Linked DNA regions of Homo sapiens: all the other regions are linked to region 3. The links are contacts of gene promoters, found by promoter capture Hi-C in blood cells and fetal thymus (Javierre and others, 2016). All regions are on one chromosome and are shown on one strand. The core of a region is centred on a gene start or on the middle of the fragment in contact, and the rest is flanking DNA. Distances in the headings are between cores, read along the strand shown. Region 1 has its middle 16 kb from the start of NGDN. Region 2 has its middle 26 kb from the start of DHRS2. Region 3 holds the start of CHMP4A (charged multivesicular body protein 4A).

Region 1 (2,750 bases), core at 193-2,692, 760 kb before region 3:
AGAAATTCTAATTAAAACCTCAATGAGATAGCACTTCATACCCATGAGTGTGACTATAATAAAAAAGAAAGGCAATAATAAATTGTGGCTAGGATGTGGAGAAACCAAAACTCTCCAACATTGCTGGTGAGAACGTAAAATGCAACAGCTACTTTGGAAAACAGTTTGAACTTTTCTTAAAAGCTTAACTGACATACATGTACCAAATAACTCAGCCATCCACTTTTGGGTATTTACTCAATAGAAAAGAAAGTATATATCCACACAAAGACTTATATAAACAAGTTCAAACAAGCGTTTGTTCATAAACGCTTGGATATTATTCATAATATCCAAAAAGTGGAAATAATCCCAATGTTTATCATTAGGTGAACAGATAAACAAAATGTGGTACATCCATACAATGGAATATTATTCAGCAATAAAAAGGAATGAGTACTGATACATGTTATTAATGTAACATGGATTAACCTCAAAAACATGCTAAATGAAAGAATCCAGATGAAAAGGCCACATATTTTATGATTCCATTTCTATGAAATGTCCAGAAAAGGAAAATCTATGAAGACAGAAGGCAGTGGCTGCCTGAAGCTGGTGGTGGAAATGGCAATGGACTGCAAATGGGTGTAAGGGATCCCTTTGGAGCATTGGGAATGCTCTAAATTGGATTGTGGTGATGCTTGCACAAATGTAAATTTTCCTTAAAAATAATTGAATTGTATAAAAGGGGTGAATTTTATGCTATGTAAATTATACCGCAATAAAGCTCTTAAAAAACTAAAGCAGTGTAAAATACTTTCGGTAAAACACAGCTTTGTTGTTTTGGTAGGATTGTTTTACTTCAACGATCAACATAAGATATTGTCGTATTATAGTAACATATCAAGAATATGTGTTGTTTCTAGTGTATACACAAACATCACCAAACTAGTTGTTGTCAATAGATTGATTTGCTCCAGTGCGTTTTTCTCACACTAATTTAACATTATAATGTGTTTATTTGAATATTTGATATAGACAGCATGGTTATAGTGATACCTATATAGAGTCATAATTGGTAATTAAATTGAAATACTTATTATTTTAATTTAATAAATATAACATTTTTATAGTTGAAAAATAAGTATGTACAAAATGTTTTAGTTTAAAACGAAGGCATGTTACTAACATAGAATCTAGTGGGAACACTTCTGATTGTGAACACTCCAACATGTAAAGAGATTATAAGTCGGTCACTCTCATTCTCAAAGCAAGAAGAAAGCTGAACTGAAAACCTACAACTTTTCTTAGTTCTATCAGAGAATTTTGGCTACAGGACAAACTATCACCCTGAAAACTGGAGAGACGGGTGAATACGGAGAATACAAGCCAGCTTACCTGAAGCAGGAGGTGCTGGAACCAGTAACTGACAGGAACACCTAAATGGTAACTTCGATGAATTGCCAGAGGCTGAGCGTGAATTAGCTTGAGAGTTAAAAACTCCTGGGACCCCAGTCTAAGGGGAGAACCCACACTTTCATGAGTTTTACCTCCCACCAGGTTCTCATGATGAAGAATGGAGAGAAATATCCTTATGTTTGGCAGGGCGAGGGTAAAGTGACCATTTAGAAATAAAACCAGAGCTTTCTCCACAACTAAGGCCTATCCAGCAGGGGGAAAGCCTTTGCCGATGTCTTCTTTTACTTGGGGAAAGGGAAATTATCTAGCTCCATCACATTCTGGACTTCCTGTCTCACATATGAGGTAAAAAACAAAACAAAACAAAAAAATACCCTAAGAAACAATTCATTCTGGACTTCTTATCTCACATATGAGGTACAAAACAAAACAAAACAAAAAAATACCCTAAGAAGCAATTATGAAGGTTACAGTCTAGAGTCACAGGTCCACTAAAATACTGAGCTCCAATCATGGGACTATAGAATGCTCTCCTACCCAGTATCTTGCTACCACATCAACAGGACTCCTGAATAGTAAAAGTGGATTATAGCTGACAGGGCTGCAAGGCTTAGATTCTATTTACGAAGGAGTTTCTAAGGAAACTCAAAGACAACAGAGGAGGCAAACACAAGGACTTTAGAAGAAATTAAAATCTTTGACACCTACTGCTGCAGCAAACTAAACACAGTCTAACTCCTGGTCAGATAAAAATAAAAATAAAACTTCACACACAGTCTACCTCAATTCCTATTACCATGTCTGCTTTCAGCAAAAAATTACAAGGCGTGCTAAAAGACAAGAAAAAATACAATCCAAAGAGACATAGCCAGCATCAGAACTAGACTCAGATGTGGCAGAGATTTTGGTATTATCTGTTTTAAAATGTACTGAAGATTTTGTTTCAATCAAGTATGGTAAAATGACAAACATGGAGACAACTGCCTTGAAAGAAGAGCTTATTACAGTTCTTAAGGGGAGGGGACAACTCATGCCACACAGGGCCAGATGGAGAAGCATCCGGTTCAGTCAGGAGGTAGACAGAGAGAGAAAAGCATGGACACAAGCCTTTATTGTGTTTCCCACAGGAAAGGAAGGCAGGGCAAGGTAAATAGCTTAGCTTTGACAAGTCTGGACAATTTCAGCAGGCTCTGTGTTACAGCAGTGATCTCTAGTTGTCTGGTCTCTGGCCCTGGGATTAATTAGGGCAGGGGAAGTACTGGCTTGGTGTGCAAGAGTTAGATAAAGGAGGTGGTTAGGGATACAAGCTTTGGATTGGTTGGTTTGCTGGATGCTCATGGGCAAGTTGTTTA
Region 2 (2,700 bases), core at 180-2,679, 600 kb before region 3:
TCCCTTAGTAATCCTATCCACAGTCATGGCTTCTATCACATCTCTGTAGACAATGCACACATCCATGGCTCCATGCTTGAATTCTGTTATCAGTCTTGCATTTCTAACTGCCTTCTTGACAACTCCATTTAGAAGGCTTCCCTTCATCTCAAAGTCACCATGTCAATAGGTAGAATTCATATTTTCTATCAAGCTTGTTTCTTCTCCTCTGTTACCTATTTTTGTTGGCAATGCCACCATTGTCCCTGGCTTCATGTTTGGATCCTCTCTGTCTCTTTTCTCTCGTGTCAAAGCATTTAGAAAGACCAGATCTTTCTCTGTAAGACTTCGCAACTATTCTCTACTTTCCCTTCCCAGCACCATCACCTGGGGTTGTGCCACCATTACCTCTTGCCTGGATTATAGATATGACCTCATAATGGGTATTACCCTACACAAGTTTCATTCCAATTCCTCTCACACATAGTTGCCAGATTAATCTTCTGAATCATCAGATTCAAAGTCCTTTTGGTTTCCCTTTGTTTATGCATTGGCCAGAAATTCAAAATTTTATACAGTTCTGTATTAGTTCATTTTCACGCTGCTGATAAAACATACCCAAGACTGGGTGATTTATAAAGAAAAAGAGGTTTAATGGACTCACAGTTCCATATGGCTGGGGAGGCCTCACAGTCATGGCAGAAGACCAAGGAAGAGCAAAGGGACTTCTTACATGGTGGCAGGCAAGATAGAGAGCCATGCAAAAGGGGAAGCCCCTTATAAAAACATCAGATCTCGTGAGACTTATTCACTATCATGAGAACAGTATGGGGACATAGCCAAACCATGTCATTCTACTCCTGCGGTTTTGCAAGGTACAAAGTCCCTCCCGGCTGCTTTTATGGGCTGGTGTTGAGTGTCTGCGGCTTTTCCAGGTGCATGGTGCAAGCTGTTGGTGGATCTACCATTCTAGGGTCTGGAGGATGGTGCTCCACTAGGCAGTGCCCCAGTGGGGACTTTGTGTGGGGGCTTCAACCCTACATTTCCAGGCCCCGACTGCTGTGTATGGAAATGCCTGGATGTCCAGGCAGAAGTTTGCTGCAGGGGCAGGGCCCTCATGGAGAGCCTCTGCTAGGGCAGTGCAGAAGCGAGATGTGGGGAGGTACAATTCAAGATGAGTTTTGGGTGGGGACGCAGCCAAACCATATCAAGTCCCAGTGACTACAGTTTGGTTTTCCAAATTTGTTTCCTATTTCTTTCTTTCCTGTCCTCTTCCTTTCCAATACTTTCATATAGCCTCTTGTTCCTTCAGGTTCTGTGCACTTTATTTATACTCTCCCCTCTGCCAGAAATGTTTTTGGTACTTTTTAGGATTAGGTTAAGTTATGAGTGAGAGAAAACCCAGTGTAAGGGGCCCATTGAGGTTGCACCAGAGCCCCTGTGACCCGTTTAATCATCTCCCACAGCTTCTGCACATCGAGAGAAGCAGGGGCAGCCTTTAGCTGAACTAGGTAACAGCCTAGTTCCATTGTCTGAAATCTGGGCAAACTGTGAGGTGTAGTTTACACTCCAGAACTGACCTTTGGGACCAGGCTAAGGCTGGGGCTTTGCTGAAACATTCCCTTGCTTGTCCTCCTCCCTTCCCTGTCTTACTTTCCACACTCCCTTACTGGTTTCTCCTGGGAGCATTTTTTTAATTTTTATTTTTGAGACAAGGTCTCACTTTGCCACTAAGGCTGGAGTGCAGTGGCATAATCATAGCTCACTGTAACCTCAAACTACTATGCTCAAAGGAACTTCCTGCCTCAGCTTCCTGAGTAGCTGGGACTACAGGCACACATGACCTGATCAGCTAATTTTTAAATTTTTTGTAGAGACAGGGGTCTCACTATGTTACTCAGGCTGGTCTGAAACTTCTGGCCTCAAGCAATCCTCCTGTCTTGGTCTCCCAAAGTTCTGGGATTATAGATAGGAGCCATTGCTCCCTGCTGGGAGCATCTGTTTAATAAACTACTTGCACATAAAGCCTTGTCTTAGGATCTGCTGTGGTAACCCAACCTAAGACACTTGTAACAGTGGCTTAAACAAGACTGTAGCGGGCCTCATATCGTGCCTTCGTGATCAGACTGCCTCAACATTGTAGTCCACATCCTCAACATGTGCCTTCTGAGGCCAAAGATAGCTGCTTTGTCTCCAGTCATCAGAGTCATGTTCTAGACAGCAGGAGGGAGACAAAGAAAGGAGGTGGGCATGCTCCTTCCACTTGAGAACACCTCATGGAAGTTTCATCCCTGACTTCTCTATAACCTTTTATGCAGAACATGGTCAGGTAGCCGTGCCTGGCTGCAAGGGCAGCTGGGAAATATAGCCTTTATTCTCAGTGGTCAATTGCACAGCTAACATTTTGGAATATGATTACTGTGGAAGAAGAGGAAACAGACATTAGGAGACAACTTGTAGTTTCAGTTACATGCTCCTTCTCATCTCTGCCTGTCCAGAGTCTTCCAAACCCAGTGCAAATGCCACTTTCACCTCAAATCCTTCCTTGAGCTACTAGTTAAAAGTTATCACTCCCTCATGGCACTTTGTGTGCCCTTTCCTTGTGACACCGCAGTTTTTCTACCTGGCTTGTAGTTACTTAAATATGCCTTCCCCACAGGACTGTAGACATCTTTAGAGTAGAGGGCAAGCTTCAGTGAATTTCTGAGTTGAAAATTGAAA
Region 3 (2,700 bases), core at 133-2,632:
TTCTTTAGGCAGAGTTTCAGTCTTGTTGCCCAGGCTGGAACGCAATGGCGTGATCTCAGCTCACCTCAACCTCCGCCTCCTGGGTTCAAGCAATTCTCCTGCCTCAGCCTCCCAAATAGCTGGGATCACAGGCATGTGCCACCATGCCTGGCTAATTTTTTGTGTTTTTAGTACAGACAGGCTTTCTCCATGTTGGTCAGGCTGGTGTCGAACTCCCAACCTCAGGTGATCTGCCCGCCTCGGCCTCCCAAAGTGTTTTGATTACAGGCATGAGCCACCGCGCCAGGACTTCTTTTTTTGAGACAGAGTCTCGCTCTGTTGCCCAGGCCAGAGTGCAGTGGCATGATCTCAGCTCATTGCAACCTCCGTCTCCCGGGTTCAAGTGATTCTCCTGCCTCAGCCTCCCTGAGTAGCTGGGACTACAGGCACACACCATCATGCCCACCTAATTTTTTTTTTTTTTTTTGAGAATGGAGTCTCCCTCTGTCACCAAGGCTGGAGTGCATTGGTGCAATCTTGGCTCACTACAACCTCCGCCTCCTGGGTTCAAGCGATTCACCTGTCTCAGCCTCCCCCAGTAGCTGGGACTACAGGCGCGTGCCACCACAACCAGCTAATTTTTTTTTTTTTTTTGTATTTTTAGTAGAGACAAGGTTTCACCATGTTGTCCAGGCTGGTCTCGAACTCTTGACCTCAGGTGATCCACCCACCTCGGCCTCCCAAAGTGCTGGGATTACAGGCGTGAGCCACCGCGCCCGGCCAATTTTTATATTTTTAGTAGAGACGGGGTTTCACCATATTGGCCAGGCTGATCTCAAACTCCTGACCTCATGATCCACCCACGTCGGCCTCCCAAAGTGTTGCGAGTACAGGCGTGAGCCCCCGCGCCGGGCTAAGAAGGCAGTCTTTCTTCTTCACCTTAGATCCCTCTTGCCCAGCACAAAGTATTATAGAACAAGGTTTTGAAAATGGCTGAAGACAGCAGGAAACTCGTCTTCAAGCCTGAACAGTGGGAGTCAGCACGATCGCCACGCCCTCAACTCAAGTCCCCTCCCAGATCTTGAGTTCTTCCCTCTGAGAGTGGGGGAGGACGGCGGACGGGAACAAGGCGCCCCGACATGGTGTGCCTTTTGGCACCGGCGATGAGCCTTGCTCCGCCATCGGCCGCCGGGGTTTTCCAGTCAGCCTGTCTCCTGATTCTCTTCCCCTGCCCGGCGCAGCGGTCCGGCCGAATCTCGCCGGGGTCTCCTCTTCCCCTGCACCAGCCAGCGCCTCCTGGCTGGCCAGTCCCACCCTGGCTCACCCTTCCCGAAGAGCCTGCCGAGACCACTCATCGCGAGCTCGCCTCTCCCGCCTCCGCCCCTCAGCGTCCTCCAGACTTCCGCCTTGCTCCTGGGAGGGTGATGTCTCATCACACAGGGACCAGCCTTGCCCAATCCGTCCTCAGGGCGCCGCCGCGACATCAAGAGGCGCAAACGAGACCACCGGTGTCACGTGACCCAAGCCACCAGCCCCAGACCGACGCGCTCCTCTTAAAGCTGCCACATCATTTTCTATTAAGTAAAAAGACAGTTCTATCTCCACCTGAGTACGTGCTTGTTCTCCGGAAGGAAATGTGCAGTGTGATGGCACCTCAGTGTATGGGGTCAGTGGGAAAACTTCATGCTCTTTACAGAGCTCAGGAAAGTGGGGTGGTATAGGTTCAAGCACTTGGGGTTGCCCTAAGTTTAGATGGCAAACCTGATGCAGTCTAATGTCTCACATTCTGGTCTCTGCACCTCAGGACAACCAACCCCATTTCACAGGCTAGAAAAATAGAAACTCCCCACACTGTGGGTAAAATCTCTTCTGTCACACACAGATGAACTTTAATAAATTACAAATGCACCTGAAAATGCCTTCTTGATTTCCTTTCAGTTTAGGCCTCAAATGGGCTCTCCTCAAGGCTGGACCTCAAAGGCCCAGTTTGGGCCTTCGCAAATGTCTCTAACCCTTGACTTAGAGTTTGAAGATTCATTCCATTCTGGATGTGAATGCAGGTAACACCTAGAAAGATAAGAAGTCACATTTCATTAAGCTTTCAGGGTTCTCCATTATTACTCTGACCTTTGTGAGTGCCACCTATAGGGCAAACTATCCAACCTGTATGTATCTACCTAATCCCTCCTAGGGACCCCAAATGGCTGTTCCTCATCACTCAGTACCCAGTTTGCTGACGTCTACAATATTCCGCCTCTCATCATCAAAGAAGATCATCTGGGAGAAAGGAATTCCAGTCTTCTGCTGCAACCTATTCAAGACAGGGCAGGAGTAACCAAGCTAGTATCTTGGTTTCCCAGGCCTCTCTGATACTTTCTCACCCTGCTCCTCCCTTATCTCCGCATACCTCTCAAAGTGTGTGATCTTGCTGCCTGGATAGATTTCCCGATGAACAAAGTACCTGAAGAGGTCAAAGAGCTCCAGTAGCTGGTTGGCCCCTTCTATCTCACTTGTCCTGCAAAACGGTGTAAAAGATGGGATTAGCAAAGTGAAGGGCCAGGGCTACGTTAACTTATTAAGCAAAGTTAGTAAGTATAACCAGGGAAATCAACTTGCTGTTTTTCCGGGATGGACAGGCATCCTCAGCCTCTGTTTAACTCCATTGCCTTCCTATTTGACACAATTGGTGCTGGGCCAATGTTTTAGCTTTTGTTTTGAGAC

Evidence for each region. Contacts are between HindIII fragments. The CHiCAGO score rates a contact against its expected background, and 5 or more counts as called.
Region 1: a fragment that was not itself captured here is called in contact with the fragment with the promoter of CHMP4A in region 3 in 1 of 17 cell types (erythroblasts); the score reaches 5.3 in erythroblasts.
Region 2: a contact is called between a fragment that was not itself captured here and the fragment with the promoter of CHMP4A in region 3, in 1 of 17 cell types (non-activated CD4 T cells). The highest score is 5.5, in non-activated CD4 T cells.

Annotation. Positions count from the first base shown.
Region 1 is chr14:23,452,016-23,454,765 of GRCh38, forward strand. No RefSeq gene overlaps it. Among named protein-coding and RNA genes, the nearest start is that of NGDN, 16 kb to the right of the region's middle. The HindIII fragment of the contact is 2,522 bases long and covers 182-2,703 here.
Region 2 is chr14:23,608,784-23,611,483 of GRCh38, forward strand. No RefSeq gene overlaps it. Among named protein-coding and RNA genes, the nearest start is that of DHRS2, 26 kb to the right of the region's middle. The HindIII fragment of the contact is 2,476 bases long and covers 192-2,667 here.
Region 3 is chr14:24,212,106-24,214,805 of GRCh38, forward strand. CHMP4A (charged multivesicular body protein 4A) reads right to left here and starts at 1,383. Exons shown (of 6, transcript NM_014169.5): 1 at 1,304-1,383. The coding sequence starts at 1,334. NEDD8-MDP1 (NEDD8-MDP1 readthrough) reads right to left here. Exons shown (of 7, transcript NM_001199823.3): 5 at 2,387-2,494; 6 at 2,205-2,290; 7 at 1,838-2,046. The coding sequence ends at 1,919. MDP1 (magnesium dependent phosphatase 1) reads right to left here. Exons shown (of 6, transcript NM_138476.4): 4 at 2,387-2,494; 5 at 2,205-2,290; 6 at 1,838-2,046. The coding sequence ends at 1,919. RefSeq lists enhancers at 792-911, 866-1,674, 1,102-1,601, 1,238-1,532, 2,687-2,700. The HindIII fragment of the contact is 5,751 bases long and covers 1-2,075 here.